Linked DNA regions of Homo sapiens: all the other regions are linked to region 3. The links are contacts of gene promoters, found by promoter capture Hi-C in blood cells and fetal thymus (Javierre and others, 2016). All regions are on one chromosome and are shown on one strand. Each heading gives the region's core, a stretch centred on a gene start or on the middle of the fragment in contact. The rest is flanking DNA. Distances are from core to core; before and after follow the strand shown. Region 1 overlaps PAPOLA (poly(A) polymerase alpha). Region 2 has its middle 77 kb from the start of LINC02304. Region 3 holds the start of VRK1 (VRK serine/threonine kinase 1).

Evidence for each region. The method cuts DNA at HindIII sites, captures the fragments that hold promoters and counts their contacts. A CHiCAGO score of 5 or more calls a contact.
Region 1: a contact is called between a fragment that was not itself captured here and the fragment with the promoter of VRK1 in region 3, in 1 of 17 cell types (erythroblasts). The highest score is 5.9, in erythroblasts.
Region 2: a contact is called between a fragment that was not itself captured here and the fragment with the promoter of VRK1 in region 3, in 1 of 17 cell types (erythroblasts). The highest score is 5.3, in erythroblasts.

What each region holds. Positions count from the first base shown.
Region 1 is chr14:96,530,152-96,533,835 of GRCh38, forward strand. It overlaps PAPOLA (poly(A) polymerase alpha), which reads left to right. Exons shown (of 22, transcript NM_032632.5): 7 at 1,324-1,435; 8 at 2,180-2,269; 9 at 2,360-2,498. Among named protein-coding and RNA genes, the nearest start is that of PAPOLA, 30 kb to the left of the region's middle. The HindIII fragment of the contact is 1,435 bases long and covers 1,514-2,948 here.
Region 2 is chr14:97,076,052-97,079,842 of GRCh38, forward strand. No RefSeq gene overlaps it. Among named protein-coding and RNA genes, the nearest start is that of LINC02304, 77 kb to the right of the region's middle. The HindIII fragment of the contact is 5,230 bases long and covers 1-3,791 here.
Region 3 is chr14:96,795,795-96,799,489 of GRCh38, forward strand. VRK1 (VRK serine/threonine kinase 1) reads left to right here and starts at 1,588. Exons shown (of 13, transcript NM_003384.3): 1 at 1,588-1,653. RefSeq lists silencers at 1,470-1,669, 1,680-1,969 and an enhancer at 1,914-2,445. The HindIII fragment of the contact is 2,825 bases long and covers 595-3,419 here.

The sequences.
Region 1 (3,684 bases), core at 981-3,480, 260 kb before region 3:
GGCTATTTGCCTAAATTTGGGTACTTTTTAGTATGTAATCAATTTATAATTCATATAGATGAAGAGCTAAACAGTTAACTTTAATTCAGCATATGTATTTACTAGACTTACTATATCCAGTAGATGCATTTAACAAACTTAATACATCAAACTTGATAATTGTGATTAAACTGACAACCAGGTATTTGTACATTTCCATTTCTGTTTTAAAAATATTGCCATGTTTGTTTGTTTTTTTTTTTCTTTTTTTTTTTTCTGAGGCAGGGTCTTACTTTACCCAGGCTAGAGGCAGTGTTGCAATCACAGTTCACTGTAGCCTCAACCTCCTGGGCTCAAGGGATCCTCCTACCTCAGCCCCCCCAAGTAGGTGGGACTACAGGCGCTTGTCACCATGCCTGGCTAATTTTTAATTTTTTTTGTAGAGATGGAGTCTCACTATGTTGTCCAGGCTGATCTCGAAGACAGCCTCAAGCAGTCTTCCTGCCTTGGCTCCCAAAGTGCTGGGACTACCGGCGGGAGCCACTACCCCCAGCCTATATTGCCATGTTTTAAAATTATCTAATTAAAATACCTATGATACGAAATAATATAGTTTGGACTTTTGGAGGGACATTGTCGTGTTCATAGATAATGAAAGGATCCTGGCTTTAAGGAAAATTAGGTTTTTGTTTTGCTGTTTTGAGTCAGGGTTTTACTCCTGTCACCCAGGCTGGAGTGCGGTGGCATGGTTTTGACTTACCGCAACCTCCGCCTTCCAGGCTCAAATGATTTTTCTGCCTCAGCCTCCCACAGGTGCATGGGAGGTCCATAGCTGAGACCACAGGTGTGTGCCACTACACCTGGCTAATTTTTTTGTAGTTTTTGTTTTTGAGACGGAGTGTTGCTCTGTCACCCAGGCTGTAGTGCAGTGGTGCGGTCTCGGCTCACTGCAGTTCTGCCTCCTGGGTTCACACCATTCTCCTGCCTCAGCCTCCCCAGTAACTGGGACTACAGGTGCCCACCACCATGCCCGGCTAATTTTTTTGTATTTTTAATAGAGACGGGGTTCACCGTGTTAGCCAGGATGGTCTCGATCTCCTGACCTCGTGATCCGCCTGCCCAGGCCTCCCAAAGTGCTGGGATTACAGGTGCGAGCCACTGTGCCAGACCTGTATTTTTTTTATAGAGACAGGGTTTCGCCATGTTGCCCAGGCTGGTCTTGCTCAAGTGTTCCACCTGCCTCAGCCTCCCAGAGTGCTGGGATTTTTTGTTTGTTTGTTTTTTCATAGAAATGCCTTAAAAGTAGTTTGACAGATATGGAATGTTGTTTTGTTTGTGTTTCAGATTGATATTTTGTTTGCAAGATTAGCACTGCAGACAATTCCTGAAGATTTGGATCTACGAGATGACAGTCTGCTAAAAAATTTAGATATAAGATGTATAAGAAGTCTTAACGGTATGAGAAAGCCTACTTCCTTTTGTGTACTTCAGTTTTTGTCAGATATTAGTTGTTTTTACACAAGTTTTGTATTGAAGCTTTTTATAGCTATATTGTTAACACAGTAGTGAGTTAAATAAAATGAACTTTGCCTAATAAACTACAGAAGAGTATGTAGTAGTTTATTTCACTCTACAGTATTTTATACACTGTATTTCTTCTGTCATTAATGGTATACTCAGGACACTTAAAAAGACCATCTGACTTTTGTACTCTGTTGCTAGTGATTTAGGTTTCATGGCCTAACCCAAATTAATTTTGATCCTGTTATTCTTTAGTAATGCTTTCAGCATTGCTGAGATCAGAAGGACTACTTTGGTACAATTTTATATTAGCATAGCTTGTTACTGTGCTCTTGAAGAGCAGTTCTTGGAAACTTTAGTGGATTAAGTCTTCCGCAGTATATGTGGGAAGTTTTAATTGTGAATCTGAAGTTCAAATTGGGGCAGGTTACAGTTTACTTTGGTTTCTTTGGTCAGTGCTTACAATAGGAGATAAATGCTTTAGATTTTTTCCCCCTCTTTATTGAATTAGCTTTACTGGTTCTACCAAATAAAAATTTATGTTTACTTTTAACTTCAATCTCAGAAAATTTGGAAGCATTACCATTAAACTTTTGATGATTTAATGTTGTTTTTTTTTGTTTTGTTTTGTTTTGTGTGTGTGTGTGTGTGTGTGTTTTTTTTTACCCCTATTAATTAGGTTGCAGGGTAACCGATGAAATTTTACATCTAGTACCAAACATTGACAACTTCAGGTTAACTCTGAGAGCTATCAAACTATGGGCCAAACGTGAGTTCAGAATTTGTTGGCTAGCTTATTAAAAATGTTCAAACTTTTGTTCAACACTAACTTATCTTTTTGCTTTTCCCTTATCAACAGGCCACAACATCTATTCCAATATATTAGGTTTCCTCGGTGGTGTTTCCTGGGCTATGCTAGTAGCAAGAACTTGCCAGCTTTATCCAAATGCAATAGCATCAACTCTTGTACATAAATTTTTCTTGGTATTTTCTAAATGGTATGTGTTTAGATTATATTAAAATAAAATTGATTGTAGACACTGAAGTTTAGTCTTATTTCTATGACATTTCTCAGCTTGGTTTCAGATTCAAATTTTAGTTCATGATGTAGTCATGTAGGCAGCCTTGGAGATCACATTGTGTATAAAATGGCAAACTGAAACTATTTTTTTTCCCTAGTTTGGCCAGGATAGTAAGGCAGATTCTATTTGTACTTCCTTGCATAAACTTACCCTCTGAATAAACTCTGAATTTTAGCAGCTAAGATCCAATTTATTGATAGGTTGGGAAATCAGTTACTATACTTTTGGATAAAACTTGTACACACTACCTCTTTCACTCTTTTAATTCTCTATCTATAGGCCATTAGTTTCTTGTGATTGTTTTTTTTTTCTTTTTGCTTTCAGCATTTATTTGGCCTAATATTAAAGATACGAATTTTCATAAGAAGCTTTTAAAGAATAAATTAACATTAAGTGCTTCGGGACAAAAAAGGAATTTGAGATTAGTCATTAACCCAGATTTTTTTAAGTTTCTTCGTTTCATTTCCACATATGTCAACTATGATTTAAGAAAAAGTAGAATAAAAGATTACTGCCATTTTATATTAATTGCCTTGGCCCAAAAGGTGAGGGTTCTTGGTTTTTAATCAAATTAAGATAAATCGTCCATTCCTGTTCTTATGAACTCCTGCTCCTCCCTCTGCAAAAGAGATGTTCTTTTCTAGTAATTTTATAAAAATTAGTTATTTGAGACAATTTAGAGCTGTGTTCAACTGGAGGAAAAATAAAAAAAATTTAGAACCATGCCACACTTTTCAGTACACATTCTGGCTGTTTTGGGATTTAGTAGCACTTATAATCAGGTGTGATAAGATTAAAGAATGTCAGAATTTCTTTTTTTTTTTTTTTTTTTTTTGTTTGAGACGGAGTCTCACTCTGTCACCCAGGCTGGAGTGCAGTGGCACGATCTTGGCTCACTGCAAGCTCTGCCTCCTGGATTCATGCTATTCTCCTGCCTTAGTCTCCTGAGTAGCTGGGACTACAAGCGCCTGCCACCACGCCTGGCTAATTTTTGTATTTTTAGTAGAGACGAGGTTTCACTGTGTTAGCCAGGATGGTCTCGATCTCCTGACCTCATAATCCGCCCGCCTCGGCCTCCCATAGTGCTGGGATTACAGGCGTG
Region 2 (3,791 bases), core at 741-3,240, 280 kb after region 3:
ATTGCCCAGACTGGTCTCCAATTCCTGGGCTCAAGTGATCCTCCCAACTTGACCTCCCAAAGGGCTGGGATGATAGGCATGAACTGCTATACTGGCCCCACATTTTCTTTATCCAGTCATCCATCAATGGACATTTAGGTGGTTTCCATATTTTGGCTGCTGTAAATAGTGCCGCAGTGAACATGGGAGTGCAGAGATCCCTTTGAGATCCTAATTTCAAATCTTTTTGATACATACCCAGAAGTGGGATTGCTGGATCAGGTAGTAGTTCTATTTTTAATTTTTGAGGAACCTGTGTACTATTTTCCATAGTGGATAAGCCATTTTTTAGAGAAGAGAAAATGAACAGCACAGAGATTTGTCCCTGTGCAGGGCTAGCAGGAGGTTTTGGTCAGATGCTATCAGGGAGCACAGGTAGAATGTTGCTGTACATTAAAATTAGCCAGGCGTGGTGGTGGGTGCCTGTAGTCCCAGCTACTCGGGAGGCTGAGGCAGGAGAATGGCGTGAACCCAAGAGGCGGAGCTTGCAGTGAGCGGAGATAGAGCCACTGCACTCCAGCCTGGGCAACAGAGCGAGGCTCTGTTTCAAAAAAAAAAAAAAAAAAAAAAGAATGTTGCTGTACGTTGATCTGTGCCTGTAAGCCCCTGGCCATCTGAAGTCTGGGGTCAGATTTCAAGTAGCCCGCTCATTGGTCCCTCACTGAAAATAATGGCAAGGGCACATGCTCTTTAAGGAAATCAGTGACCTTATGCCAATGGACTCATCTGTAGGAATAACCAGTTCACTAGCGTGAAAAGAGCTGGTTGGTGCTGGTCCGGGTTGGGTTTCAGGAAGAGAACAGAGGAGAGTTATTTATGGGTTTGTTATATCAGCCCCACTAACTATTGGCCCCAGTAAGCATTGATTATTGATCTTGTCCACATGATCCACTCTCCAGAGAAACCCAGAGCCCTGTGCATGTTGCTCTGTATCAGGCTGTTTGAGGTTCTGTAGCGGTTGGCCCTGTGTGTTGCGGTTTCTGGGCAGAGAGCTGCCCCTTTGCAGGTCACTGGACAGCAGGGCTCAGCGGAGCTCAGGCCTGGTTCATTCCTCATTTCTTCTCCTCGAGGAGGTTTTTGGAGGAGGGATTGATCCTTCTCCACAGGTGCCTAACCCAAATGACAGGTCCTGCGACATCGCCGGTGCCGGGCCCTCTGATAGAGCAGCTGGACTCTGCAGGGGAGGCTCCAAACCTTTGTTTCCCATGACCCCTCCTAAGTCTAAGATGGCTGTGTGAGCAGGGGATGGCCTGCCTGTGTCCCCCACCCAGGTGCAGGAGAGCAGAGTTGGAACAGGTTAAAAAAAACCAGCAGGTCCAGCTTTGGTCTGCTTAGTGCCTGACAAGTGGAAGCGCCGGAGGGAAGCGTGTGCTTGCACACTGGCCATGACGACAGAGAAACTCTACCGGCTGATGAAGCTCAGACCAGGGGCGTCCTGAGGTCTGACTCAGCACATTAGCCACTTCCCTTCCTTTGAGGCCTGGCAGTGGTCTGGAAAGGGGCCAAGAGAAAAAAGGAGCTTTAGCCGAGAAAGTAGAAGTTTTCTCTCTAACGTAGTTGATACGATTGCCAGATTGAGCAAATAAAAATACAGGGTGCTTGGTTAAATGTGAATTCCCATCATACTTCTTGGGGACATGGTTATGCTAAAAACATGCTTGTTTATCTGAAATTCAAATCTAACTGGGCATCTTGTACATTATCTGGCAACCCTCATCATTGGTGTATGTTTTGTTTCCTGCTGTCACCTAGCATTGTCAATAATATTTGTGCTGCCTGGAGGTGGGTTTGGCCGGAGAGGTTGGCGGTGGGCAGGGCTGAGGTGTGGGGAGAGGTGAAGTGGAGTGATACCAAGAAATTGTCTGTTCAAATGTTACTAATTCTTGGGAACTTGCAGAGCAACATGGCGCACGCTGCCTTTATTGCTGCCTGGAAGGGAGAAAGACACTTTTTTAGTAACCTGTGCTGGTGTCATCAAATGTGGCCTGAGATCACTGAGGGGGATGTTCTCCAAAATGTGCAGAGCATAGGTGAGTTTGCCGCACTGCCTTTGTGATCCAGATGCCTGCGTTAGTTCGCATGAAACTGAAATGGATACGATGGCAATTTCTGGGTGAAGAATACATGAGGAAAGAGACGCAATTAGAGTGAGCGATATGTTTGTGTGTTGTTTTGGTTTCAATCTTGAATGCTTGGCTTTGGCCTTTCCCCCCATAGATCCTAGAAGGCACTTGGGCAATTGTGTGAAAACAGGGAGTCCTTGGATCAAAGACTCAGTTCCTTACTGACTATTTGTGGGATGTTTGGGAAGTTACATCACCTTCTTGAGCCTCAGTGTGTCCTTCTGTAAAATGAAGTTGAGAAAGATATAATTATTGATAAGGTTAAAGAGATAATGAATGTAAGGCATAGCCTGGTGCTTAGTAGGACTTCAATAACTGGCGATCATTATTGTTATTCAAAAAATATGTGTTCCAGTCATCATCAATCCGCCAGCCAGCGTGTGCAGAGCTTGATATGATTAGGAGCACTTACAAGTACACATATTTCCCTCCCAAGTGGAAGGCTATTTCATGGTGAATAAATATTGTATTGATAGCATTAATAATAAAAAATACAAATGCGACTATAAAGCAGTGTAATGGATGTGACTTAACAATGTGGAGATCCAAGTGGATTTGGGGAATCAGTTTGATTTGTGTGGTTTTTATGCCTAGGCAGTCACAATAAATAATAGTTATATTAATTGGCTCCCTGATCAGAGTTATAAAAATCATGTTTTGTAGGAATTACGTCAAATACACTGGAGTAATGGTTTCAGTGAGAAAAGAGCCCGCCCTGGGGATCAACATGCACAGATGTAACTGTCCCAAGGTTGCTGGGTGGCCTGGAGCTTCTTGGTGCAGATTCTCCAGAGTGGGTGCCCTGGCCTTAGTTCTGAAAATGACCCTTTTCCAGGCCACACTATGTGTTGCTTCAACAGCACCAAACCCAAGGTAAGTGCAGTTCAACCCCTTGAGCTGCCCTGACCCACTGGGTCTCAGAGCCTGGAGAGAGTAAAGATACCATGTTCTCCTGGAGAAACTGAGGCCCCCAGTTTGGGAGTGACTTGCCCAAGATCACACAGAGACTAAAGGTAGTCTCTAAAGCTGTCCTATAATTATTAAACTTGTTGAACTTTCAAAGCAGCTCGCTAATATCTTTCTTCCATCTCCCTGGCCATGGGAGACCCTGAACATGGGGCCTCTCTACCATGCATGAAGCACATGATTTGTTACAGAGCGGTTTTTATGGCTGACTCCCAGACTTCTTTTCCACCCCCGCTGATTAGTTGAAGCCACCTGGATTAGTTAGGGCAATTAGTGCTAGCTGCAGGAACAAATAACCCTAAAATTTGAGTGGCTTGACACAATACCTTTATGTGCCTAGACCAGCATTTGGCCTCTTATGAAGCGATTTAGGAATTCAGATCTCTACTTCTCTACTGTGCTGTCATCTTTTAAGGCATCTTTTAATCTCTACTTCTCTGCTGTGCTGTGAGTCCTCTGCCTTTGGCTGCTGATGAAAGTGAGTGTGGAGGACCACACAAGACATTTTATGGACAGGCCTGGAAGGGGCATCACTTTCTCACATTCTATTTATCGAAGCTGGTTACATGGCCCCAACTGAATTGTAACAGAGGCTGGGAAAGGCAGTCTTCCTGGGTTCTGAAAACGACTCTTTTCTCCTGGAGGGGGTAATGGATTAGAAAA
Region 3 (3,695 bases), core at 338-2,837:
GCCCCAAAGCCAGGGGGCACAGGGAGCGCGAAGTAATTTGTAGAGGTCAGCCTCCTGGGGCAGAGGGCAGGCAGGAGAAGTATTTGGAGCAGATGAGGGTATCTGGAGGGGAAAATGTAAGACATCAGGCACAATATTGCCCTGTCTAATGGACAGAGTGATTCCAGGTTTTGTAGGGACTGAAGCTCACATAATTTTGGGGGATCTACTTTAAGAAAAATCAGCTGGGTGTGGTGGCTCATGCCTGTAATTCTAGCACTTTGGGAGGCTGAGGCGGGGTGGATTGTTTGAGCTCAGGAGTTCAAGACCAGCCTGGGCAACATGGTCAAACCCTGTCTCTACAAAAAATACAAAAATTAGCCAGAAGTGGTGGCCTGTGCGTGTAATCCCAGCTACTCGGAGGGTTGAGGTGGGAGGATTGCTTGAGCCCAGGAGGTCGTGGCTGCAGTGAACCGAGATCGCGCCAATGCATTGCAGCCTGGGTGACAAAGTGAGACTATATCTTTAAAAAAAAGAAAAAGAAAAGTAAAATCGACAAATAAACCCCCAAAGCTATGTAAACTCATTGAGGGACCTGCGCAAGTGAGGTCCTGAAGCTTACGCTTCATTGGCTTCATTGTTAATCTCCCTCTGCCTGTGACTTCAGTGATTTTGACCTAGAACAATGACCCAGTGCCCAATAAGCTCTCAGCCTCATGGGTGATGGAGACTTAGCTGATTATAATAAACACAATGCGGCCGGGCGCGGTGGCTCACGCCTGTAATCCCAGCACTTGGCGAGGCCAAGGCGGGCGGATCACAAGGTCAGGAGATCGAGACCATCCTGGCTAACACGGTGAAACCCCGTCTCTACTAAAAACAGAAAAAAATTAGCTGGGCGTGATGGCGAGCGCCTGTAGTCCCAGCTACTCGGGAGGCTGAGGCAGGAGAATGGCGTGAACCCGGGAGACGGAGCTTGCAGTGAGCCGAGACTGTGCCACTGTACTCCAGCCTGGGCGACAGAGTGAGACTCCGTCTCAAAAAAATAAATAAATAAAAATAAATAATAAACACAATGCAAACTGTGGCATACGTTGATTACAGATGAAACACTATAGATGATTAGGTAGACATTGAGATATGCTTTGAAATAGGCTTCGAAAAACAGGTAGGATTTAGACACATATCAATGAGTGGGCAGAATAATACTAACACTATCTGCTATTTATTGAGCACCAACTAAGTTTAAAGTACTGCCTATAGATTATTTCATTTAATCCTAACAGAAACAGGAAACTTATTTTACACCCAACTCTCTGCCAATACACTTAATAAATCAAGCTACTACGAACAAGGCTGTAAACCACATTTCCTAGAAGACCAGGGAGCAGAAGGACGGGGATCTCCCTTTGCCGCTAAGAGACTCCAACTCCCAGGATGCCTTGGGAGCGCTGGACCACAGCTCCCGGCATTCCCGGGGAGGCGCGGGGCTAGCGTAGCCTCCGCCCCGCGCCTCGCGTTACCACTCGTCCCGCCCCTCCTCGTCGCCTCCGAGCCAATGGGAAGGCTCCATACTGCAGGGTGCGAAGGGGCCGGCGCCGCTGCCGAGTTACGAGTCGGCGAAAGCGGCGGGAAGTTCGTACTGGGCAGAACGCGACGGGTCTGCGGCTTAGGGTAGGGAGGCCGCAGGCGACACGGCTCGAGGACTCGCGCGCCGAGCCGGGGGCGCGGAGGCGGGCGGCCGGGGCTGGGGCCGGCACTGGGCCTTCCGGGCGGCCTGTGGGTCCACCGGGGTGCGGGAGTCGCCGTCAGCCTCGGTCGCCCCGCGGGACCGCGCTCCGCCGCGTGGCTTCCGCCTGCGCGGGCGTCCGCTCCTTCCTTGTCTCGTTCAGGCCCCGCAGGCGCCCCCGGGGATGCCTGGACTGGCCAGGCCGGCCCCCATCTGAGCTCCACGTTCTGGACGCGCGTGGTGTCGCGGCCGAGCTCGCAAACGCCGCCTCGGGCCTCACCGGGAAGCCGGTTCTGTCAGGCGGGGCTCCGGGTGAACAGCGCAGGCGAGGCCCCTGCCCCGCAGAGCTCACTCTGTAGAAGGGAAACAACACACGCAGCTGCGATGTTTTGCGGATACGGAAATGCTTTCTTAGAAACGGGACAGGCAGTTGCGGGCTAGAGGAATGGGGGCGAGGCTCTTTAGGTTAGGTGATCCGGGAGGGCATCTCAGAGGATGTGACCTTTGACTTGAGACCTGAGAGGGGAGGCCGACCCCTGAGGATAGCAGCCAGGCCTGGGGACCGCGAGGCCGCCCGTTATTTCCCTGTCACATCGCGGGGAGGCCCCGTGATCCTGTACTTGAGGGTCTGTCTGGTGCAAGGCAGTTAGAGCCGCTTGTGTGTTTTGCAAGGGACTTTCATAACCGTTTGACAGTTCCTCCTCATTCTGTCCTTACCTGGCAGGGTGGCATCCTTTACTGTTGCAGCTCCATTCAGGGGCAACGCATAGTTTTTCCTACCACCGAAATAGTATTGTGGTTCTCGTCTCAAAACTCTTAGGTGGTAGAATTAAATTCGACAGACAGCAGCAGAGTCAGACACTATAGGTTCCTGTTGAGGCCACCCATTTTTCTGATGTCCTTTCTTTCAAGTCACTCATTTTTGTTTTCCTTTGTATAGACTCTTCCCTTCCCTTTCCTGTGTCCCTTTCTTGGAACAACTTGGAAATACAATTTGCTATTGGGAGGATGTTGGTTTTAGGGAACTGTTGAAGAACTTCATTAATTATTGTGTGTGTGTTTTTCTTTTCTTCTTCTTTTTTTTTAAACTGGAATTGCCCATCTGTTGAGACTGAAATTCAAGAGTAAAAAAAAGTAGGGCAGCATTTATTTTCAAGAGTTGACAATAAAGGCACCTTTCTTTATGACATGCTGAGCATGATACTTTGGGGGAGAATTTAATCTAGAATTTTGAAGCATTTTCAGAAGGAAGCAAGGGTTCTTTATATAGTCATTTTATGTAGGTTACGTTTATGTTCTTCAAAATGGCATGTAGTGATTGGAATTAAATTTCTGGGTAGATAAGATTATGTTCATCTGTTACCTATAGAAGGGAATGTAACTTAAGTAGTCACTTAATAATAGCTTTCTCTGTTGATGCTACCACAGATGGTATTCTCTACATCTCAACATTGCTGATCAGATTCTGTGTTAATACAGTAACACAACTTGAATTTAATAACAATAAACTTGTGTTAGGCGTTACTGTCAATTTAGTTCTGGTATCCAGTACAAATACCAGTTTTATAGTGCAATGTCTTCTTGTTATGTTCAGTGCTGCAAAAATTATGAGAGGATATTTGTTAAACAAATGAGATAATGGAGTAATGTGTTAAGCATAGAGCCTGGCATATAGTAAGTTAGTAAGTGCCCAGGAAATGGTTATATGGAAAGCTTATGCTAAGTTTTATTCCAGTATGCAAGTGTGTATTTTAAAAATAACAGTAATGCATTCAAAATGTTGACAGACCCTAAAATTAAATTTCTTAAAGGAAATAGGCCAGCTTTTTTTTTTAACTTTGAGAACTAATGTGAAATAATAATAAATATATAAGTGAAATGTCCCAGATGTCTAGAAATGAAAAAACAAGATTTTAATTTTGACAGCTATATTTTTTTTTCTTAAAAGCATCCCTAATAAGATATAATGTACTATGATTAGGATTAT